6 separate regions of the Homo sapiens genome follow, and regions 1, 2, 3, 4 and 5 are each linked to region 6. Evidence: promoter capture Hi-C in 16 types of primary human blood cells and fetal thymus (Javierre and others, 2016). All regions are on one chromosome and are shown on one strand. The core of a region is centred on a gene start or on the middle of the fragment in contact, and the rest is flanking DNA. Distances in the headings are between cores, read along the strand shown.

Region 1 (4,075 bases), core at 5-2,504, 230 kb after region 6:
TAGCTTCATTCTTGCATTCAGACATGACTGAACATTTCCTAGTTGTGGCCCAGGAGCTCTCAATCTGGTTGGGACAGATCTGCAAACAGATAAATGTCACATAGTTTGATGAGGGGAAGAATAGGCACCATGGAGTTATGCTGATCATCTCTGTGAGGCCAAGGAAGCTTGAGAGTCAAGGAGCACTTGAGCTGGTGTTGGAAGCTGAGTGGGCATGGCCCCATGGGAACAGCACAGGAAACCACACTTTGCTGAAGAACTTCTTGTGCAGAGCTGCAAAGGCATGAAAGAGTCTTCGACATTTAGAGTGCCATTCTACTTAATCTGGGCAAATTATTTATCTTCCCTGTCTCAGTTTCCCTGTTTGTAAAAATGGGGGTAGTAATGGTATCCACAGAGGAAGGGATGGTGACTGTTGTAATCCCTTTGAGTGGATTATCTTTTTTTTTTTTTGAGATGGAGTCTCGCTCTGTTGCCCAGGCTGCAGTGCAGTGGTGTGATCTCGGCTCACTGCAACCTCCACCTCCCGGGTTCAAGTGATTCTCCTACATCAGCCTCCCGAGTAACTAAGATTACAGACACACGTCACCACGCCCCGCTAGTTTTGTATTTTTAGTAGAGACGGGTTTTCACCATGTTGGTCAGGCTGGTCACGGGCTTCTGACTTCAAGTCATCCACCTGCCTCAGCCTCCCAAGGTGCTGGGATTACAGGCATGAGCCACAGTACCTGGCCGAGTGGATTATTTTACTTGATTCTGTAAATCACACTATGAGGTAGGACTTGTTATTATTACTATTTCTATTTTATAGATAAAGATGTCTTAAATCTTGGGTCTTAAGGGGTTGAGTAACTTGCTCAAAGTCAGGTAGCTGGTGAAAGGCAGTTTGGGCTCTTGTCTTGATAAATCTGATTCCAAAGCTTGTATTGTTCATCCCTAAGCTATAGTCAGTGCTTGGCACATAGCTAGTGCTAAATAAATGGTAGCTATTATTGCCAGGATTGCTAAAGTTTCTCACCCAGAGAGTTGAGGGTTCTGTTATCACTTCTACAGCTGGTTGAAGATCAGTAGTGCTGCTATCTCATCAGCAGCAGGGACTATTTTTGGAAAGCCCTCATCACCTATGATAAATCTAGATAGTTGCACCACTTTTGTTTCAATTGGTTGATTTTTGAAAATCAAAAATGGAGAGTGATTTTTATCTTCTTAGAGGGCAAGGTTTTTTGAGCAGATGCAGTTGATGTAAGGGAGGAAGAGCTGGGATTGATGTACTTTTCTGTTGTCTGTGGGCTGTATCAAACAAAAAGTTTCATGTTCTGGCTGCCAGCTGGAGGATGGCAGCAAACCAGCATTCACAGGCAAGAGGTATCATCCAAAAGTCTGGTGACTGCCCACAGTGTTTTCTACAGGGGGCTAAGAAAGAGCCTCTTCCATGAGTGATGCCAGGAGTAAGAGCTGTGAACCCGTCACCCATTTATTCATTCAACAAATGCATACTGAGAGCTTATTAAGTGCTAGACATTCATCTAGTGTCTAGAGATACTCCCTGGAAATAATAGAGAAGAAGGTTGACAAGATTCCTATTTATGAAGCTTATATTTTTAGTGGAAGGAGACAGACTAATCAAATACTAAATGAATGCCTGCATAATTACAAACACTCATGCCACAAGGGAAATTCATGCTGTGAAAATGTCAGAGGGATAACTATCAGAGAAATTTTCTGACTCTTCCAAGGATGCTGCCCAGAAAACCGTCCTTCTTTGAGCTGATGAGGAGAGCCCCAAATGTTTTGACACAGGGCAGAGTGGCACCTCTCACTTTTTCCCTGGTAGTCATACCTAGGGTTTGCCTGCCTGCCTTCCTCCTGGTCATGAAGAGCTGGGGTTCTCCCAACCTGAATTCCTAGCCTTCAACAGAGGATTTTCTCTTGGTTCATGGGGTGAAGTCAAGTATGTCCATATGGCTTCCTCTTAGTTCTGTTAATGCTAGATCTCCTAGGACAGGCCTTGCAGCCAGGTTAATATTGTGCACCAAGTTGATACACAAGGTTGAAGTGTATTTTTTAGTATTGCCCCCAAGAGTTTTGCCTTAATTATTCAAGTAACATAATAAAAATAATAAAGGAAGTTGGCTAGGCGTGGGGGCTCACGCCTGTAATCCTAGCACTTTGGGAGGCCGAAGTGGGTAGATCACCTGAGGTCAGGAGTTGAAGACCAGCCTGGCCAACATGGTGAAACCCCATCTCTACTAAAAACAAGTATTAGCTGGGCGTGGTGGCCGGTGCCTATATTACCCAGCTACTGGGGAGGCTGAGGCAGGAGAATCTCATGAACCTCGGGGGTGGAGCTTGCAGTGAGCCAAGATTGCACCACTTCTGCCTGGGCCGACAGAGAGAGACACCATCTCAAAAACAAAGAATAAAATAATAAAGGAATTCAAACTGATAAGAATTAATCTTTCATCAGTTTATCCGTCAATGGTATTCAAGTCTCAACCATTTACATTTTTTCTAGACAGTTGGATATACATATCTTTTAAGTCACCATCTGAGTATACAGGTAACATTTTCTGTTTTGCTTTTTTCATTTTAAGATTTTAAGTATTTTCTCCCCTATTACTATATAAATTCATACACAATTATATAAATTATTTCAGGTGGCTATACCATGCTTTTCTTATTTCCTTATTGCTGGATGCTTAGTTGTTAACAGATTTTCACCTTGATAAATAAGCTCGACATTAAAAATTTTTATTTTTGGCAGTGTTATTAGGAAAGTTTGTAGTGCTTAACATCTACTTCAAAAAGTTAGAAAGATCTCAAATTAACAACCTAATATTGCACCCAGAGGAACTAGAAAAAAAATTTACCCCAAAGCTGGCAGAAAAAGAAAAAAATAACTAAAATCCAGAGCAAAACTGAACAAAATTGAGACTCAAAAATCCATACAAAGAATCAACAGAACCAAAAGTTGGTTCTTTGAAAGGATAAACAAGTTTGGTAAACCATTAGCTAGATTAACAAAGAAGAAAAGAGAGAAGATACAAATAATCACAACCAGAAATGACAAATATGACATTACAACTAATCCCACAGAAATATGAAAGATCTTTGGAGACTATTAATACCTCTGTTCACACAAAGTAGAAAATCTAGAAGAAATGGACAAATTCCTGGAAACTCACAATCTTTCAAGATTGAATCAGGAAGAAATTGAAACCTGAACAGACCAATATCAAGTTCTGAAATTGAGTCAGTAATAAAAAACTTACCACCAAAAAAAGCCCTGGACCAGATAAATTCACAGCCAAATTCTATCAGACATACAAAAAAGAGCTGGTACCAGTCCTACTGAAATTATTCCAAAAAAGTGAGGCAGACAGATCCCTCTCTAACTCATTCTATGAAGCCAGCATTACCCTGATACCAAAACCTGGCAAAGACACAGTAAAAAAAGAAAACCGCAGGCCAATATCCCTGATGAAAATAAATGCAAAAATCCTCAACAAAACACTAGCATACCGAATCCAGCAGCACATCAAAAATTATTTCACTGTGATCAAGTAGGCTTCATTCCTGGGATGGAAGGTTGGTTCTACACAGACACATTAATAAATGTGATTCACCTCATAAACAGAATTAAAAACAAAAGCCATATGATCATCTCAATAGATGCAGAAAAAGATTTTGATAAAATCCAAAATCCTTTCATCAAAAAAGCCTTCAAGAAACTAGGCATCAAAGGCACATACCTCAAAATAATAAGAATCATCTATAACAAATCCACAGCCAATATCATACTGAATGGGTAAAAACTGGAAGCATTCTCCTTGAGAACTGAAACAAGACAAGGATGCCCACTCTCACCACTTCTATTCAACATAGTATTGGAAGTGCTGTCCAGAGCAATCAAACAAGAAAAAGAAATAAAAGGCATCCAAATAGGAAAAGAAGTCAAACTGTCTCTCTTTGCTGACAATATGATTCTATACCTAGAAAACTATAAAGACACTGCCAAAAGGCTTCTGGAACTAATAAACAACTTCAGCAAAGTTTCAGGATACAAAACCAGTGT
Region 2 (4,276 bases), core at 558-3,057, 180 kb before region 6:
AAATGGCATATCAATAAATATTATTATGCATAAAAGCTTTCCTATATGTGTGAATACTTTCCAAGGTAGAGTCTCAGAAATATAACTAATATTCCAAAATAATATGAATATCTTACGACTCTTGACATGTATTGTCAAAGTGCTTTACAAACAGATTTTGCCAATCTACACTTCCAAAACCTGAGTGTGCCCATCTCACTGAACCTTTGCTATCACTTGGCCTTATCATTTCTCTCCCCTCAAAATACCAACGTATAACTGTCTCAGTTATTAAGAGATAACTTATCATCTCTTCATCACATCTCAATCCATTATACCTTGGTTCATATACACACCAGTGTAGTAAGATTATTCTGGCAAAGGTCATTGTTGACCTTCTTATTGTCAAAACCTTTGACCCAGTAATTTGTTTTTCCTTCTTATGCTATTTGGTCTCTCGCCAATGTTTGATGTTATTGCCTACCTCCTACTTGGAACTCTTTCTGCCTCCATCTCTTCCAGTTACCTCTAAAATATTAGGGTTCCTGAGATTTTCACCTTTATTTTTCTCACTTTATATGCTCCCATTGATAATCTTATCCACTCTTGTAACTTCAGTTTATTCTGTCTAGACTCCATCTCAAAAAAATTTATTTTATTTTATTTTTTGAGAGTCTTGCTCTGTCGCCCAGGCTGGAGTGCAATGGTGTGATCTCGGCTCACTGCAGCCTCTACCTCCCTGGTTCAAGCAATTCTCCTGCCTTAGCCTCCCTAGTAGCTGGAATTACAGGCATGCACCACCACGCCCAGCTAGTTTTTTGTATTTTAGTAGAAATGGGGTTTCACCATGTTGCCCAGGCTGGTCTCCAACTCCTGAGCTCAGCGAATCCACCCACCTCAGCCTCCCAAAATGCTAGGATTACAGGCGTGAACCACCACACCCAGCTTATTTTTTATTTTGAGACAGAGTCTCACTCTGTCGCCCAGGCTGGAGTGCAGTGGTGCCATCTCAGCTCACTGCAACCTCTGTCTCCTGGGTTCAAGCGATTCTCCTGTCTCAGCCTCCCAAGTAGCTTGGATTACAGGTGTGCACCAGCACACCCAGCTAATTTTTGTGGGGTTTTTTGTATTTTTAGTAGAGATGGGGTTTAGCCATGTTGGCCAGGCTGGTCTTCAACTCCTGACCTCAAATGATCTGCCTGCCTTGGCCTCCCAGACTGCTGGGATTACAGGTGTGAACCACTGCTCCTGGCCTTCTATTTATTTTTTTAAAGGTCTTTCCTCAACCTTGTATTCTTCTCTTTAATGTTTGTTTTCCTTCTATTTATAAACAAGATTTTATGAACAATGGTCTATACTTGCTTGTCTCCACTTCCTGAACTCCTATTCATTTTTTTTTTCACAGTAATCTGGCTTCTATCCCCACCACTCCTCTGAAACTGCTACCAACAAAGATCACGGGGGAACTTCTGGATCAAATGGATACATGTTTAGCCCTTTTTTATTCAAGCTCTCCATGGCATCTGACCCTCTGACCACGCCTTTCCTTTTTGAATGCAATCCTTCCTGGTCTATGGAGCCTGTCTTTCTTCTCTGCAGCCTTTCAATCTCAGACTCTTTTTCTTTTAGCTCCTCTTCCTCTGCTTCCTCCTTAAATATTAGTTTTCTCAGAGCTCCACCTCATTCTCATCTCATTGCCTTACCTGCCCTCCCAGAATGAGCTCACCCTCTCCCAAGATTTTAGCCTCCACCTCTGGCTAATGATGATCTTGCTCATCCCCTTTAAACCTTGAGTCCGTATACCCAACACATATTATGAGTCTCCACTTAGAGATCGCTCAGATTCTTCAAATTTAACAGCCTCAAACTCAGGTCCCCATCCCCTCCCCCTTCCAAATCTGCTCTATTCCTGTAATGGTAGCTCAACTCTTTGACTCGGTCAAATAACCTGAAAACTCTGGAGTCATTCTTGATCCCTCACCCTTTCTTGCTGCCATATTTTATGAGTCACCAGGTCTTGATTTCCTACATCCTCATTATATCTCGGATCCAGTCCTTCCTCTCTGTTCCCACTGTCACTTCCATCTTTTCAGCAGTGTCTCCTCTGACAGGATTTTCTCATTCACAACTGTACCACTCAGGGTTCAACCAGGTTTAGCATAACCAGGGAGGTATTATAGGGAACTGGCTTATGCAATTGTGGGGGCTGGATAAACAGTCCCTGTAAGGCTGTCTCTGTATCTGATGCTGGAGCCTGAAGTCCACAGGGCTTATGCAATTGTGGGGGCTGGATAAACAGTCCCTGTAAGCCTGTCTCTGTATCTGATGCTGGAGCCTGAAGTCCGCAGGGCAGGTGTTCAGAAAGAGAAGATGGATATGACGTAGGGGGAATTGACAGCAGATTGGAACCCACAAGCATGAGCTGAGACCCTACAAGGATGGACCGTCACCCACATCTGTTTTTGTTGCCTATGGCCTTGGTGATAAGGGTATCCTGAAGAAGCTGGGGCCTTTCATCGCTGCTACCTGGAATGATCTTTCTGAGAATCTAGTTCTTAAAACCTTCAGTGATTCCCCAGTACTTTTAGTATGCTATGCAAATCATTACAGCACAGAAGACTCTCAGGCTTTTGCCTCACTACTATTCCACGCTTAATCTTGTCATTCCCTCGCCATGCCTCTTCTCACCTCTTCCCTTCCACTTTCTAGCTCTCTCTCTCACACACACACACACACACACACACACACACACACACACACGTGCACACACACATAATATCAAGCTATAAAGAATTACAGTAGAAAAAAATTTACCCATAATATTTGGGGCCTGGTTTACTCAAAATTAACTATCTTAACTCCAGAAAAAAGAACACTTGAACAATTATGTTGTTACCTGCTAAAACATATAGAAGGCAATAATTGTCACAAATTTTACATTACAAGCCAGATATCTCAAATATCATGCGAGATTTCATATCAAAGAGTGTTGCCATGTTCTCATCAGGGAGGCTGTCCTCCCTGTTGTCACTGACCAGTCCTTGGCAGCCCTGTGGTGTCTGTTATCTTACACTCGAGCAAAGGATTCTTCAATTGTTACAATGCAGAGGATTGAAAACTAGGCACTTATTTATTCATTTATTTATTTATTATCTTTTTGAGACAAGGTCTCGCTCTGTCACCAGGCTGGAGTGCAGTGGCACAATCACGGCCCACTGCAGCTTTGACATCCTGTGCTCAAGTGATACTCCTGCCTCAGCCTCCCGAGTAGCTGGGTCTACAGGTGCATGCCATCATGCCTGGCCAATTTTTAAAAATTTTTTAAGAGATGGGGTCTTGCTATTTTGCCCAGGCTGACCTAGAACTCCTGGGTTAAAACAATCCTCCCAACTCAGCCCCACAAATTGCTGGGATTACAAGCATGAGCCACTGTGCCAGCTAGCTTTTTAATTTTTTATCCCCAACAACTAGCATAGTGCCTATCACAGAGCAGTTACTTCACTCACTGGAGAAGAACTTACGACATTACTTGAATGAAGGAACTTTCTTCTTACCCCCTAAACTCCTGATCCACCAGTCCATGGAGGAGCCCAGAAAGTCAAGCTTCACAGCCTCTCTCTGCCTTTTTTTAATTTATTTTATTTTATTTTATTTTATGTTATTTTTGAGATGGACTCCCACTCTGTTGCCCAGGCTGGAAGGCAGTGGCATGATCTTGGTTCACTGCAATCTCCGCCTTGCAGGTTCAAGCTATTCTCCTGCCTCCGCCTACCAAGTAGCTGGGACTATAGGCACGCGCCACCACACACGGCTAATTTTTGTATTTTTAGTAGGGATGTGGTTTCACCATATTGGCCAGACTAGTCTCAAACTCCTGACCTCATGATCTGCCCACCTTGGCCTCCCAAAGTGCTGGGATTACAGGCGTAAGCCACCTCTCCTGGCCTCTCTACTCTTTCAAGATAAGTTTTTGTTTACTGTGCTTGGAACATTCAAATGAAGATCATTTCCTAATGCTTTATCCACTGCTGGTGTGAAGGCTATTGTTATAATATTTCTGGAGAGCAATATGGCAAATTATTATAATTATTACTTAATTTTTTTTTTGAGACACGGTCTTGCCCTGTCACCCAGGCTGGAGTGCAGTGGCACAATGATAGCTCACTAAGTGCTCAAACTCCTGGGCTCAAGTGATCCTACCACCTCAGCCTCTGAGTAGCTGGGACCATAGATACATGCCGTCAAGCTCAGCTAATTTTTAAAACATTTTTTATAGAAATGAGGTATTGCTGTGGTG
Region 3 (4,092 bases), core at 584-3,083, 210 kb before region 6:
GTTTGGTACAAGTTGTATATGCACCCTCTTCCTTTATATTAAAGATAAATTATTGCATGTGCTGACTATATGATAAAAACATAAGCATAACTATAATTGGCTTTCATTTCCATTTTCTGTTTATTTTAATGAATAATGTTAAACACTTATACATACTAAGAAGATAGGCTACTTACATGGTTATGGGCTTAAAGGCCTCTGGGGAAAAATATATATAATATATTTATAAATAAATATATATTATATATAAAATATAAATATGTAATATAAAATTTATATATAAATATATATAATATAAACATTGTATATTATATAAAATATATATCATATAAACATTGTATATAATATATATAATATAAACATCATATGTTATATATAAATATATATATTATATATACATTTTGACAGAGTCTCACTCTGTCACCCAGGCTGGACTGCAGTGGCACAGTCATGGCTCACTGCAGCCTTGACCTCCCAAGCTCAAGCCATCCACCCATCTCAGCCTCCCAAGTAGCTGGGACCACAGGTGCATGCCACCATGCCTGACTAATTTTCATATTTTTTGTAGAGACGAGGTTGTAAATATCTTTAAATTTTTTTTTTCTAATCGTATGTTGGCAAAATTCTCCCACTTTTGTTTGCTGTATTCCTTTAAAAATTTATTATTATTTTTAAAATACTGTTTATTAATGTTTTTATATAGAGATGTGGATCTCACTATGTTGCCCAGGCTGGTATTGAACTCCTGGGCTGAAGCGATCCTCCCGCCTCGGCCTTCCAAAGGGCTGCGATTACAGGCAGGAGCCACCGTGCTCAGCCTGTTTGCTCTATTATTTTTTAAATTTTTGTTTGTCTCTTTTTGTTTGTTGTGTAGTTATTAATTTTATGAATCTCCTTAAGGTAAATATTAAGGGATTTTTACAATTTAGATAATAAAATATATTAGTTGTTTGCTATAAACAGTGATATTTCAGATTTTTGGCTGACTTGGACTCCTGACAGCTGGCAACAGCCCACTGGCTGGTCTGAGAGTCCCTGTCACAGTCTGAGCTTGAAGGCACAGTTTGCAAAAACCCTCAAGAAGGAAAGCCCAGAACCAGCAAAAAACATCTTTTTTTTTTTTTTTTTTTGAGACGGAGTCTCGCTCTGTGGCCCAGGCTGGAGTGCAGTGGCGTGATCTCGGCTCACTGCAAGCTCCACCTCCCGGGTTCATGCCATTCTCCTGCCTCAGCCTCCCGTGTAGCTGGGACTACAGGTGCCCGCCACCACGCCTGGCTAATTTTTTTTTGTATTTTTTAGTAGCGACGGGGTTTCACTGTGTTAGCTAGGATGGTCTCGATCTCCTGACCTCCTGATCCGCCCGCCTCGGCCTCCCAAAGTGCTGGGATTACAGGCGTGAGCCACCGCACCCTGCCACAAAGAACATTTTTTAAAATGTTCCTCTATTTGCATGAAAGGGCACTGCCTGCTGTGGAAAGGATGGATCCGGTGCACATTCTATCAACTATGGAGAGTCATGCAGGGAAACAGATTGGTTGCTGTCCAGCTTCCAGGTCATTCTAGTGTCATATTAACTCCCCTTTCCGAGTGCTGCCCGGGGCCTATTCATGCCTACCCCTCCCCATATGACTCAGGGAGGGGCTCTCTGTACTCTTGGCAGCCAGAGAAAAGCCCATGATCTCTGGTGTAGAGATGAAGTGGGCACAATTACATCAAAAGGAGAGAGGGAGAGCTCACTCGTGAAAGCTTTCATTTGGTATAAAGAAACAATCAGGGGGAGAAACGAGATGGGGGTGAAGCTGGAGATATTTCGGATGATAATCTACCTCACTTTCCCTGTGGCTATGTTCTGGGTTTCCAATCAGGCCGAGTGGTTTGAGGATGATGTCATACAGCGCAAGAGGGAGCTGTGGCCACCTGAGAAGCTTCAAGAGTTAGAGGAATTCAAAGAGAGGTTACGGAAGCGGAAGCGGCGGGAGGAGAAGCTCCTTCGCGACGCCCAGCAGAACTCCTGAGGCCTCCAAGTGGGAGTCCTAGCCCCTCCCCTGATGAAATATACATATACTCAGTTCCTTGTTATTCAAAAAAAAAAAAAAAAAAGAGAAAACATCAGGAGCAATTGTAGGTTTCTTCAATGGGAAAAATAAGATTAAAACAATATACTTCATTGCTTAAACATTTATTAAACAGCCACTATGTGCATGAACTTCAGGAGGCACTGGGAAACCAGGGATACCCAGAGCCCAGCTCCTACACAGAGGAGTCCAGCCAGTGCAGGGTGGGGTGCAGGCCGTGCTCCAGCCTGTCCTCCGCAGCAGATCCCTGAGCTCAGACTCCTCCCAACACACAGCTTAAGAAGGTGCCTTCCAATCTATTAGGCATCCTCATCTGGGGTTTGCTGATGATGAGTCTGGTTTTCTTTCTTTCTTTCTTTCTTTCTTTCTTTCTTTCTTTCTTTCTTTCTTTCTTTCTTTCTTTCTTTCTCTTTCTTTCTCTTCCTTCCTTCCTTCCTTTCTTCTTTCTTTTTTCCTTCCTTCCTTCCTTCTCTCCTTCCCTCCTTTCCCTTCCTTCCTTTCTTTTTCCTTCCTTCCTTCCCTCCCTCCCTCGCTCCTTCCCTTCTTTCTTTCTCTTTCTTTCCCTCTCTCTTTCTTTCTTCTTTCTTTTTCAAAACAGAGTTTCACTCTTGTTCTCCAGGCTAAAGTGCAGTGGCGCGATCTCAGCTCACTGCAACCTCCGCCTCCCAGGTTCAAATGATTCTCTTGCCTCAGCCTCCCAAGTAGCTGGGATTACAGGCGTGCGCCACCATGCCTGGGTACTTTTTTGTATTTTTAGTAGAGACGGGGTTTCACCATGTTGGCCAGGCTGGTCTCAAACTCCTGACCTTGAGTGATCTGCCAACCTCAGCCTCCCAAGCTGCTGAGATTACAGGTGTGAGCCACTGTGCCCCAGCCTGGTTTTCTTTTTTTTTTTCTTTTGAGAAAGAGTTTCCCCTTCGTCACCCAAGCTGGAGTGCAATGGCACGATCTCGGCTCACTGCAACCTCTGCCTCCTGTAATCCCAGCTACTTAGGAGGCTGAGGCATGAGAATTGCTCAATTGCTGGGATTCCAGGCACACACCTCCACGCCTGGCTAATTTTTGTATTTTTTGTAGAGATGGGGGTTTCATCATGTTGGCCAGGCTGGTCTCGAACTCCTGACCTTGTCATCTGCCCGTCTTGGCCTCCCAAAGTGCTGGGATTATAGGCATGAGCCACAGCGCCTGCCCTGGTTCTGGTTTTCTCCACTCCTGCAGCATGGTTTTCATCACCTTCTCCCACCTCCCCTTCCTCCTCCTTCACACACATTCTTCTTTGAAAATGTCATCACCACCTCCTCTATGTATGGCACGGAACCAGACCCTGGCCACCGCTGTTTATAGCAAGAGAAGCGGACCATAGTAGAGGAGCTGTGCCAAGCAGGCCCTGTGCTCTCAGGACAGCAGTAAGTTGTAGCTGCTCCAGACCTGACACGTGTGCTCTGAAAGGTGACTTCATTCCTTGTTGATGAATGCATCTGAATGGAAAGTGTTAGAATGATAGGAACTTTAAGTCACACACTTATTTTAGTATTTAACAAAATGCCTCGGCTAAGGAAAAAACTAAACAATTGAGGCAATTGCAAAAAATCAAAGTCTGACAACCTCATGGTTATAGCCCTGTTTCCAGAGTAGTAGGCCCCCTGGCTCTGCCCTTGTGCACCCCAAAACAGCCTGGCCTGTAAGTGGAAAAGTACATGTGGCATGTGTGTGTGTGTGTGTGTGTGTGTGTGTGTGTGTTAGAGACACCATCAGAGAGTGGCAGGGCAGAGACAGAACTTAGGCTCGTAGCTGCTGGTGGGTTAGAATTTCTACTTGGGTGGAGCTCAGGTAGCCTGGCCGGTGGTGAGGTGGACTGACATGTCACAAAGTGGCGCTCACATAGCATTTTATGTTCAACTGAGAAAACACCAGTCATTCATAGCAAAGGAAGGGAAGTGCTGACGGAAATTAGGGTGCCCTAGGCCCCATCCCCATCCACTCCAGGTCACCCTGTATGCCCCGATTCCCTGCTCGG
Region 4 (3,844 bases), core at 771-3,270, 230 kb before region 6:
TGCCCAGCTAATTTTTTGTATTTTTAGTAGAGACAGGGTTTCACTGTGTTACCCAGGATGGTCTCGATCTCCTGACCTCATGATCCACCCGCCTCGGCTTCCCAAAGTGCTGGGATTACAGGCATGAGCCACCGTGCCTGGCCAAGGGACAGAAATTCTTAACCTGAGGCACATCAATAAACTTGGGAAGGTTAATGGCCCATCCTAAATTATATGTAATATTTTGTTTCTTGTTGATAATATGCATTCTATATTTTGCACTGTATTTTCCATGAATAGTCCCCTTGTTTGCTAGGAACCTAATACTCAAAAACATTTTCTAGGGAAGCTGAATTTACCATGCTCTCTAAAGAATCTTCACGTTCTTTATCAATGACCTAGGCAGGCTATACAAAGGTCAGTCATGAAATCGTGGCTTATTTAACTATAACAATCCTTTTAGCCACTAGTTCAAATTTCTGTTTTCTTTTTATCATTCAAGCTTGATTGCCTTTAGTCTTAGGTAAATTAGTGTTCACAAATTAGAATCCGAGTACAGTTATGAAGAATCTTTTGTGAATACAAATTTGTTTTCTCTACAGAGCTAGGATCACTGCTGGCATTTTAATTACTTGAGAATCTGTGTATTGGTTGGCCAATCAACTAAAAACCTTTTTTCTTTTAAAATAGTTTCCAAGACCATAGAATAAAATTGCATTCCTTGATGGAAGAAAAGTGAGGAGGAAGTAAATGATAATGACTTCAAGAGTAGTTTTTAGGGGGTTATTACAGAAGCCTCTGATGTCTAAAAAGAAACTGACTTAAAACTAGTCTTTGGGGGTTTTGAAATGGTGTTTTTTATAGTCTCAAATGCAGGGTTCATTTATTTGTGAAGATCAGATCAGAGAAGTAGACTAAAAGTGAAAATATTGGAGATCCAGTTAATAATAAGGGTTTTTTTTTTTTTCAAGTTAATTGTGCCCATTTCTGCTTCCCCAAAGTACCTATTTTCTAAAGATACTTGTGAAAACATGCTTTCCTCTCCCTTTTTCTTTCATAGTGGCTGTAATCAAGTACTGTGGTCACTTCTGGAATAACCCATTTGCCTTTGCTTTTAAGAATGTTCACTCTCTTGTATACTCAATTTCTATTTATCCTTTCAAGGATATCTTAAATGTTAATACATTTTTGCCATGACTCCTTACACCTCATTTGGGCCCTAAGCCAAAAATGTGTCCTGTGTGAATATGCCTTTCTTTTAAGTCAACAAGCCCCGTCTACTTTGAACCTCTCTTTTTCTGGGCCACCATGAGTGTGGTTTTGAAATAACTCTCTCCTTCAGACTCTTGTCTAAGTAGGAGTTTATAAATATCAAAGGAAGATTTTAAAGCCATTTAATTTTCACAAGTATATATGTGCATATATATCAGATTGCTCTAAATAAAAGAGAAAGTTTTTTTTTGCATGTTGAAGGCAAATTTTGAAAAGGATGGAAGCTTATTTTGTTGTTACATTCTTTAATATACAGAGAGAAAGCATATAGTCATGATTGTGTATGTAGTTCTCTGAAACTTAAAACTTCAAGAATTATTTCAAGCAATGAAATTGACCTTGAATAACCTTCATAGAGTATTTTTACTTACTACTCTTTCTGCATTTCAAACTCAGGACATTACAAACTTAAACATATATATATATGGCAGGCAAAATTCTTCCACAAATGGATTTCTGCATATACCAAAAAATGAAAAAAGGAGGATGAAAAGATATCAGTGTAGGCCTCTCTGGAGGGCCTGTCATTTGATTTCCTTGACTTGACAATCTCCTAATACATGCGCGCGCGCGCGCGTGTGTGTGTGTGTGTGTGTGTGTCTGTGTGTGTGTGTTTTGGGTAGGGGGTGTTATAGACCTGTGGGGCCAAGTTGTTCTGAAGGCAGTATAGTGGTTAACAGCATAAGCACCAAAGTCAAACTGCATGGGAAGTAAACCTGAGGAATCCGTCTTAACTCTTTCCTGTCACCACCCTGACCTTCACAGCTGCATTGCTAATCTCAGGTATTATTTTTTAGTGACTACACGAGTTTTGAGAACTTTAAATTAAAAACATGAATGGAGCAATGTGGAATGAACAGTGCATCAAAGAATTTAGTCTTAGAGAAAATAACTTTGTAAATATGCCTTAATACAGTACATAATGGAAACTGCATTCTATTAAAATTTTAGACCCACTGTCAAAGTAAAAACAAACATAAATATGACTGTGCCTTAACTGGATATTACCAACTCATGATCTTTTCCTCCACTGGCTTTTATCCCCAGGTTCTGTCAGATAGTGAGAAACGGAAACAGTACGATACTTATGGTGAAGAAGGATTAAAAGATGGTCATCAGAGCTCCCATGGAGACATTTTTTCACAGTGAGTAATTTACCCATCTGCAAAGTGTTAGTGTCTGAGAGAGGGTCACTTAGCGATTAAAGAATTATTCTCATTCCCTAGTTCAGAAACTTTTGATGAACAGTACAATTTAGCTGATCCAAAGATCAATTATTGTCCTCCCTGTGGGAAGATAGTCTTCTATTTTCACAAAGCTTCAGGAAAGACTGATGGCACTGAAAGGACATTCCATCTAGCCAACCATATCAGTTAAATCAGTGCAGACAATTCACGGGGACATGTGTTGGAAATCAGTTCATCCTTGCCTACTTGCTACCTTGCAATCTGCAAACCACTTAATGAGCAAAATTATTGTTAGCAGAGATAGAAAAATTCCTGCTCCCATACCCAGAGCTGCCTCTCTTTCGTGCTATCAACAAGTGAGGGTGATTATAATAACCAGCATTAGGGGAAGGAATTAGGGTAGAGGACCTTTATCTCTTGCTTTCTGGGAGTGCTGGGTGGTTGGAATAATAAACACTTTCTTCCTCACTCTTTGAACCTCTCTTTATTGAGCATTTGAATTTCCACATTCCCTGATGATTACATATACTAAGAGACTTTAATCTGGGGTTTCAGGTCTGAAATTATAAACAAAAAGATGTTCGAATCTGCATTTTTATGGGGAGAGTTCATTGTTTTCTTCAGATTCTCAAAGGGTTCTGTGAACCCTTCCCCAAAAGAAGTAAGAATCACTGTTGCATATAGTAGTTACCACCATTTAGTGCTTGGTTGAGGGGCCTGGGGTGGGGGAGTAGATTTTTAGGGTCTGTAAAGATGTGTGAGTAACATGATTAGGACATCTTTTCCCCCCGCCAGGATCAATTTGGCTGGCTGAAGTGATCCCTAGGGAATACCAGAAAGAGAAACAGCTTCCCCAGCCCCCACCCTGTTCTTTCCCCTTGCCTTTATTTAAGATTCAGGGAATTCATTCACCTGAGTTGGTTGGTGGGAGAGGGAGTTATATAGTTATCATCTTCGCTATGCTAATATACAAGGCTTCTTAATAACACCAAAAATTAACATTAGATTAAACCACCTGTAGGATTGAAGGTCACCTTTTTTGTTAATCTCAAGTTACTCTTGTTACTTACAAAAATTAGTTTGGGTCTTATAGAGGCTAGAACTTCCTTCTCCTTAAGCACTAGGATTTTACTAAGGCTGATGCTTTTTTAGCTTATTTAATTACATACTCAAGATTTTTGTGTAGAGCAGTAGCTTCTTTCAACAAGTTAGCTTCTAAAAAGCATGTAAAGAGAACACTACATATGTTAAAATTACCGATAAAAATTTCTTAAATTAACCATTACATTTAGCATTACACAAGTTTATGTATACTATACTCTTTCTCAATAAGTCCACCATATTCAGATTTTTCCCAATATTGAAAGATTATTATTTCATTGGTTGGGTCCAACATTGAATTCATT
Region 5 (3,814 bases), core at 172-2,671, 240 kb after region 6:
TCCGCCCACCTCGGCCTCCCAAAGTGCTGGGATTACAGGTGTGAGCCACCGCGCCCGGCCAAGTCATAGTTTTTTTTTTTTTTAACTCTGATCTATAGTATGTCTGTTTTCTTCAACCGGACTCAGAATGTAATTTTCCATAAATGGTTGTAGGATGTATTAGGCTAACTTGAAAATATAAAAGCGTTTGGTGATAAATTGTGATAAAATTTCTTTCATAATAATTTCTAGCTATTTAGAGTTAACTACACCTAGAGGCAGTGGATTTTGATGTATTTATGAATTTACTAACTTGAGCTGATTCTGTTGAATTTTCTAAGCGTGTGATTGTATAATCTGAATACAGTGATGCATTTATTTTTTCTTCTCCTAATTTGCCTCTTTTTCTGAGCTCTAATTCTAAGTTACAGAGAGGTGGTAGTTTCTTTTTTCTGCAGCCTTTCCCCCTCGCTAGGCTTGTTTGCTGGGATCTCAGTAGTTGTGGATTTCTCTTGGTGATTTCTTAGAGGCCTATTTGAGTTTGAAAGTTCAACTTTCAATTAGCAGGGAGGTTTGACAAACAGGATTTTTTTCTCTTTAAGTACCCAAGTCAGTTTAAAGTTTTCTTTTTAAAAATTTGATATATAATAATTGTACATATTTATGGGGTACATGTGATATTTTGGTACATGCATACAATGCGCAATGATCAGATTGGGTAATTAGAATATCCATCTCCTCAAAAAAGTTTTCTCCTTTGATTGGCTTTTTTCTTTTCCTTTCTTTTTTTTTTTTTTGAGACAGAGTCTTGCTCTGTTGCCCAGGCTGGAGTGCAGTGGCGTGATCTTGGCTCACTGCAAGCTCCACCTCCTGGGTTCACACCATTCTCCTACCTCAGCCTCCCGAGTAGCTGGGATTACAGGCGCCTGCCACCATACTCGGCTAATTTTTTTGTATTTTTAGTAGAGACGAGGTTTCACTGTGTTAGCCAGGATGGTCTCGATCTCCTGACCTCGTGATCTGCCCACCTTGGCCTCCCAAAGTGCTGGGATTACAGGTGTGAGCCACCGTGCCCAGCCTGATTGGCTTTTTTCTTAGAATCACGTCCAAACTTCATACCTGGGCCCCCATGTCCGTGTATGATCTGGTTCCTGCCAACCTCTGTAACTGTATCTTTGATTTTTCTTCCCCTCACTCCTTGTCTACAGTCAAGTCCCTGCCCTCATTGTGGTCCTGACACTTGCTGCATCCTCTGACTGGTGGACTTCTCTGAACCCTTCCCAAGGCTGGCCATCCTTTGGGTCTCAGCTCCAAGGCATTCCCTGAATCATCACTCTATGAAGGAAATTCCCTCAGTGTCTCTGGCACACAGCTCAGCTTGTTAGTGTCACAGTGTTTGTCACAATCCGAAATTATCTTATATGTAGGTTGTTGTCCGTCTTTACTGTCTATGTCCGTGCAGTAGAATGTAATATCTCTGAGGGCATGGACCTTGTCTTTGTTGCTCACAGGCGTCGTCTCCCGTGTCTAAAACTGTGCCTGGCATAGAGTAGGTGCTCAATCAGTATTTGTTGACTGAACAAAACAATTCTCCTTTCTTATGGTCAACATCAAGCATCTGTTCTAACCTAAGCCTTCTGTGCTGGATGTTCTCCAGTGGCACCTCCAAATCCCACTCTCACCCTTTTCCATCTGGCTCTGTCCCTGAGAAATTGAATTTTTTTTTTTTTTTTTTTTTTTTTTTTGAGAATGAGTCTTGTTCTGTTGCCCAGGCTGGAGTGCAGTGGCACAATCTCGGCTCACGCTAACCCCCGCCTCCTGGGTTCAAGCGATTCTCCTGCCTCAGCCTCCAGAGTAGCTAGGATTACAGGTGCGTGCCACCACGCCCAGCTAATTTTTGTATATTTAGTAGAGATGGGGTTTCACCATGTTGGTCAGGCTGATGTCGAACTCCTGACTTCAGGTGATCCACCCGCCTCGGCCTCCCAAAGTACTGGGATTACAGGCGTGAGCTACTGCGCCCAGCTGAGAAATTAAAATTTTGAACTGCGTTAATTGGCATTTCTCACTCTCTGGATTTTCTCTGGGACTGGCCAGGAGAAGCAGTGGCATTAAAGCTGAGAAGAAGACTAAGGTCAGGGCACCTATTCCGCCATGTTTCGCCTTGCAGAGTAAACTCAAGCTGTATCTTTCTCTTGACTGAAGGTCTCAGATCCTGCCAGGAGGCCGTCCCAGTCTTGGTCCTGCTCTGTCCCTTTTCCCTTCAGTTCTATGAGATCCAAGGGAAGGGGCAGAACCAGGTTGGGATATTGACTCCCTCAGGCTCCTTCTTGCCCGGAGGTTGGCAATAGCTGTGTTCCTCTCCTAAAGGCAACAGCTCCCGACAGGTGTCCCTCCTCAGCTCAGGGTCTCCGCTCATCAGGCCACAGTAGACCTGGGGTGGTAATGACACCCTGCAGTCATCAACCCTGGGGCTTTAGCCTATTCCGTGTTGATTTCTTTAAACTCTACCCCAACTTGGTAAGTAGTCCTTTTATGAATCTCTCAATTACTCCATTGGAGCTTCTCATCTCTTTTCTACTGGGATTCTCACCAATAATTTATTCATCTGTGAAATGGAAAAGTTGACTAACTGAAGTTTCTGATGGATCTGTGTTTCTCATGCAATTACTACTAATCCCTTTCGAACCAGTGACTGATTCTGACAAAATGTGTTGTAATTCTGAGTTGTGTAAAGATATACCTCCTGCCCTATGTGCACTTCAGTGTACCTGCCCTGTAAGATGATAACAGTTTGGACTGTGCCCTTCTCAGATAATTTTCAAACCATTTTGATGAAATTTTGCCCTAGGATTGAGGATAGGGTTGTGTTGTTTTCATGAATGATGTTTCTGTGTTCCTGAGGTTTAGTACATACATTGGAACTGAAATAAAGAGAGAGGCTTTCATCCTTAATTCTGTGGATATCCTCTTTCTAAATCATCTTGTGTTCAGTCAAATGCCCTCACTTCCCCAAATCCTGTGTGGATAAAGAATGATCCAAAACAAACCTGAATAGGACAATAGAGGATTCAGCTGACCCCCAGATCCCGTGTAGATTTCAGTGGTGAGCCCCAAACTTGCTTGACCGAGTAAGATTGAAAGAAGTTCTCATAGGATCACAGGATTTGGATGGCTCCTTAAAGTCTTCAGTTCCCTCCTTCATCAGATAGGTCAACGTGGGGTAGAGAAACTTTTCCAAGTCTTCCAAACACTGCTTAAACAGTTGCAAAGACAAGGAGCTAGCCCAGGAAGCTTTTAGGTTTTTCAAGATGGCCTGTTTGATTTTGACTGGATTTAGTACATTGTTTCTGACAATGGCTTACAAAGAAAGAGAGAGAGAGAGAGAGAGAGAGAGGGAGGGAGGGAAGGAAGGAGGGAGGGAAGGAAGGAAGGAAAAGAAGGAAGGAAGGAAGGAAAAGAGAGAGAGGAAGGAAGTTAGTTTAGCTCTCTGACCTCCTCTTCCATTTCTGCCACACCAGTTCTGTGACTCTTCCCTGGGCCTCAGGTTCCTAAATGGAACGCCTGGGGGTTGTCTTGGATGCCATAGTTAAATCCTGTCCATTTGCTGAGCACTGCATGCTTTTCAAAGTGCAATGGGGTCCTTTGCACTTGTGGGATACACTGAACATATGGTAGTGTTTTCATTTTTCTGACAGAGATAGAAATATAATCTACTGGTGATACCAAGAGAATATCTGGTTTGCTGCTTTGATAACTGGAGTAGCTACTCCACTGTAAGTAGCACACTGGCTTTGTTCACTTTTCTGTGTGCCCAGGCACAAGCGAATGTCTT
Region 6 (3,883 bases), core at 777-3,276:
TTTTTTCAAAGACAACTTCTAAACAGAACAAAGCATTCCTCCATAAGTTAAAAAAAAAAAAAAGTGATCAGTACTGGTTAGAGAGATAATTTATGAATTATTTTAACAAAGACACAAGTGTTCTTACTATTTTTCCACCCAGGGAACGGGTTTGGCTTTCTTGTTCTCTCCGCTACTTCCCGCACTGGCAGCTACTCCTCGATCCTTGGTCAGCGGGGGTTTAGTACTGATGGATGTACCTTTAAGAAATGCTTGCATGGTACTTCACCCTGGTCAGGTGCAAGACAGAAAAAAAAAGCTTTTATTGAAACTTTTATTGCGAATCAGCACCATAGGAAAGCGGGGGTGGTGGTGGGGAACCATTATGAGAAAGTACAGCCCGAAAATAAACTTAGCCTTGTGCAAAGATGTTACATAATAAAGGACATCACCCCATGACCTAGGACACTCTGAATGCACTGTACTGAGGGCTACAAGAACAGAAAAGTGGTCAAAGTCCCTAACGAACTTAGAATCTATTTCTAGTGCAGGAGTTATAGAACAAAGATCATATGTCACAAAAATGTTTAATGAGTTCCAAATGCATTGATAAATATGATGTTGCTAATGACCAAACCACATGGGCCTCCATGGTTTCTTTCACAGTCATGGGCCTAGCTCTAGCTCAGACCCTGAAATGGACTCTTCGGCAATTAAAGGTGCTCTGCTTGCACCACAAATGAGAACCTTCACTCCTTTCCTTGGGTCAGAACTCAAAGACCTTTTTTTGTTGTTGTTGTTTTTGAGACAGGGTCTCACTCTTTTGCCTAGGATGGAGTGCAGTGGCGGAATCATGGTTCACTGCAGCCTTGACATCCCAGGCTCCTGTCATCTTCCCACTTCAGCCTCCCCAGTAGCTAGGACTACAGGTGCGTGCCACCACCCCCGGCTAATTTTTTAAATTTTTGGTAGAGACAGGGTTTCACCATGTTGCCTAGGCTGGTCTGGAACTCCTGGGCTCAAGTAATCCTCCTGCCCCGGCCTCCCAAAGTGCTGGGATTACAGGTGTGAGCCATCTCGCCTGGCCAGGGACCTATTTTCATGGCAGAGTCAATGCTTACCTACCTTCAGAGACTTTCTGTGGGGAAGGGAAGGTGGGGGACTCTGTTGTTAAAATAGAAACAGCTGTTTTTCTCATAACACACTCACTTGAAGAAATCAAAACAATGCATAAAAGCATGAGAGATTTAAAAAAGTAATACAAAATCCCACCCAGAAGGTAACTATTTCTAACATGCAGGTAAACATTCTTCCAGGCTGTTTTCAGGGATAAAAAGCATCATTAGCTCGCCTGAAAAGTCCCCGGTTAATTCTATTTTTTTCACTGCTACATGCCCTGGTGCCTAGAACAGTGCCTGGTACATGGTAGATGCTCCGTAATATTTGGTGAATGAATTACCATCTATGATACCCGGTTTCCTTTTCTGTTAAAGGAGCTAAGGCCTATTCCACAGGACAACTGAGTTAAATAAAAGAATGTATGCAAATACATAGTTCCTTGCTTGGCATATGGGGATATGCTCAATAAAATAAATTTTTAATATCTGTTAGCAGCCAAGGTTTTTATAACGTTACTGGATTAGTCCATCCCTGCCTCGGGCTGTTAAACATTAATACAGCCCAAAGCCGGGGCCTGCAAGATGCTGTCCGGAACCACCATTTCACCAAAGGGCGCGGCCAGGGCATGAAAGGGCCACTAGGCTGGGGCCCCGAAGGAGGTGGAAGACCTCACAAGGGGCATCAAGGGCAGGAGTGGGGAAGGCGAAGCGGGCTTGCAGTTCCTCCAGCAGGTTACCAGTTAGCCTGGCTTCTCGTGCAGGTCACCGCCGCCGGCTCGTTCCTCAGGTTTCCGCGATACAAAAAGGACGAGATGGTCTCGAAGTCTTAGCTCCGTCACCTAATCTGAGAATAACGGGCCCAGGAGACTTACGATCACTGATGTCCCCACAGTCGCCTCAGTTCCCGCCACGGAACGGCGGGCGAAAAGCAGGGCGGGAATACGCCGGTAGGAATACGCGGGCACGTAACGCGTCACTTCCGGTGCTGGGGCGCGCTGCTTGCGGAGGGAGTTTGCCCGTATACGGTTTTATTTAGGCAGGTGATGAGCCAGCCGGACTTTCAGGCAGAACTGGACTGGAACAGGCATGGCCTAGGAGGTGTCCCTGTCCCGGTGCATTGCTCCCACTTCAGACGTGAGCGCGACCCTCCCGGAAGGAGTAGAGGTCGCGCGGGCACGGCGCTGGGGCTGCTTACCTGGCAGGCTCAGCAATGAGGGCGGGGCGGCGGCGCGCGGGCCTCTGGAACCCTGCCGGTCCACCGAAGGTCCCGAGCCCGCTATCTTCGTAGGTGCGGGCCTCCGGAGGTGCAGGTCCCTGTCCTCCTTGTCCTGCTTCGTCGCAGAGCAGAACGCGTGTGCTTTAAGGGCAGAGACATCTGAAGATGCTTTGCCTTGCCCTCTTGAGGACACGTGGCTTTTACTTCTAATAGTGTCTGCGTGTTGTGGAGAGAGAAGACCATGCAGCTGTGGACATCTATTATAATTCCTGAGCCCCACTTAGAAATCTGGAAGTGAAGGCGTTCAATAAAAGTTAAAGGACTGATAATCATGTTTAGCCCCACCAAGCTTCATGCACAGTGGGCTAGGCTGGTGCCTGAGCCCACTGCTTTTATCTCTTCCAAGTACTTGGTTTAGCTCTGAAATGCTCCTTAATCCTATTGAAACCTGACCCTTCTCAAAGGCCACCTTCTCTACTGGTCTTTACTAATTACTAACCCATAAGGTTGTTCCGGGTCTTCTTCAAATGACTGTTTTGTTTGGCACAAACTCAGCATGATATCCATTGTTAACTTTGTACGTTTTTTTCATTTATCTTGCAACAAATGCTTACAGAATGTCCACGCACTGTGTTAGATGCCTGCAGATACAGCAGGGAAAACGCTCGAGATGCCCTCAAGTAGCTTTACAGACTAGGAGAGTGACAGACAATGTGATGTGTGGTTATGCAGAGGAAGTAGGGGGCTGTGAGAACTTACATCCCAGGCCTAACCCAATCAAGGGTTTAACCAAAGTAAGGATGCTTTATGCTACTTTGTAATTTCCACAGAGTCTGATACAATCTCTGGACAGTATAAAAAACACACAGGTTATCTATCTGGTCACCGGTTTACATTACCATAACTTATCAAACTGTATACTTAATGCTTGTATATTTTATTGTATGTAAATTATACCACAATACAGTTGATAAAACAAGATCTATGAAAATAGATGGTATCCATTTGCTACCTGAAGGAACAGCACAACCACAGAGAGGGGGATGTTATGATCTCATTTAACAGACAAGTTGGGCTGGGCACGGTGGCTCATGCCTGTAATCACAGCACTTTGGGAGGCCGAGGTGGGCGGATCACCTGAGGTCGGGAGTTCAAGACCAGCCTGGCCAACATGGTTAAACTCCATCTCTACAAAAATACAAAAATTAGCCAGGTATGATGGCAGGTGCCTGTAATCCCACCTACTTGGGAGGCTGAGGCAGGAGAATCGCTTGAACACGGTAGGTGGAGGTTGCAGTGAGCTGAGATCACGCCATTGCATTCCAGCCTGGTGACAGAGCGAGACTCCGTCTCAAAAACAAACAAACAAAAAAACAGACAAGCTGATGGATAAGTGGTCTTTGTCCATTTTGGCTGCTATGTTTATAAGCCATAGATTGGGTGGCTTATAAACATCATAAATTTATTTCTCACAGTTTTAGTGGCTGGGAAGTCCAAGATCAAGGCACCATAAGATTCAGTGGCTGGTGAGGGTTCACTCCCTCATTGACAGCTGTCTTACTGCTGTAAC

Evidence for each region. The method cuts DNA at HindIII sites, captures the fragments that hold promoters and counts their contacts. A CHiCAGO score of 5 or more calls a contact.
Region 1: a contact is called between a fragment that was not itself captured here and the fragment with the promoter of RFC4 in region 6, in 4 of 17 cell types (naive CD4 T cells, total CD8 T cells, total CD4 T cells and 1 more). The highest score is 6.3, in naive CD4 T cells.
Region 2: a contact is called between a fragment that was not itself captured here and the fragment with the promoter of RFC4 in region 6, in 1 of 17 cell types (erythroblasts). The highest score is 7.5, in erythroblasts.
Region 3: a contact is called between a fragment that was not itself captured here and the fragment with the promoter of RFC4 in region 6, in 4 of 17 cell types (naive CD8 T cells, total CD8 T cells, M1 macrophages and 1 more). The highest score is 6.3, in naive CD8 T cells.
Region 4: a contact is called between a fragment that was not itself captured here and the fragment with the promoter of RFC4 in region 6, in 10 of 17 cell types (total CD8 T cells, naive CD4 T cells, non-activated CD4 T cells and 7 more). The highest score is 10.6, in total CD8 T cells.
Region 5: a fragment that was not itself captured here is called in contact with the fragment with the promoter of RFC4 in region 6 in 1 of 17 cell types (naive CD8 T cells); the score reaches 5.7 in naive CD8 T cells.

What each region holds. Positions count from the first base shown.
Region 1 is chr3:187,031,001-187,035,075 of GRCh38, forward strand. All of the region lies in intron 2 of ST6GAL1 (ST6 beta-galactoside alpha-2,6-sialyltransferase 1), which reads left to right. Among named protein-coding and RNA genes, the nearest start is that of ST6GAL1, 100 kb to the left of the region's middle. The HindIII fragment of the contact is 672 bases long and covers 919-1,590 here.
Region 2 is chr3:186,629,127-186,633,402 of GRCh38, forward strand. No RefSeq gene overlaps it. Among named protein-coding and RNA genes, the nearest start is that of FETUB, 9.1 kb to the right of the region's middle. The HindIII fragment of the contact is 3,546 bases long and covers 35-3,580 here.
Region 3 is chr3:186,595,189-186,599,280 of GRCh38, forward strand. It overlaps the pseudogene PET100P1. Among named protein-coding and RNA genes, the nearest start is that of AHSG, 16 kb to the right of the region's middle. RefSeq lists an enhancer at 1,752-2,046. The HindIII fragment of the contact is 179 bases long and covers 1,745-1,923 here.
Region 4 is chr3:186,573,542-186,577,385 of GRCh38, forward strand. DNAJB11 (DnaJ heat shock protein family (Hsp40) member B11) reads left to right here. Exons shown (of 10, transcript NM_016306.6): 3 at 2,299-2,396. Among named protein-coding and RNA genes, the nearest start is that of DNAJB11, 4.7 kb to the left of the region's middle. The HindIII fragment of the contact is 1,094 bases long and covers 1,474-2,567 here.
Region 5 is chr3:187,047,185-187,050,998 of GRCh38, forward strand. All of the region lies in intron 4 of ST6GAL1 (ST6 beta-galactoside alpha-2,6-sialyltransferase 1), which reads left to right. Among named protein-coding and RNA genes, the nearest start is that of RPL39L, 90 kb to the right of the region's middle. The HindIII fragment of the contact is 3,699 bases long and covers 1-3,271 here.
Region 6 is chr3:186,804,456-186,808,338 of GRCh38, forward strand. RFC4 (replication factor C subunit 4) reads right to left here and starts at 2,027. Exons shown (of 11, transcript NM_002916.5): 1 at 1,835-2,027; 2 at 128-269. The coding sequence starts at 258. RefSeq lists enhancers at 1,583-2,194, 2,195-2,806. The HindIII fragment of the contact is 2,364 bases long and covers 297-2,660 here.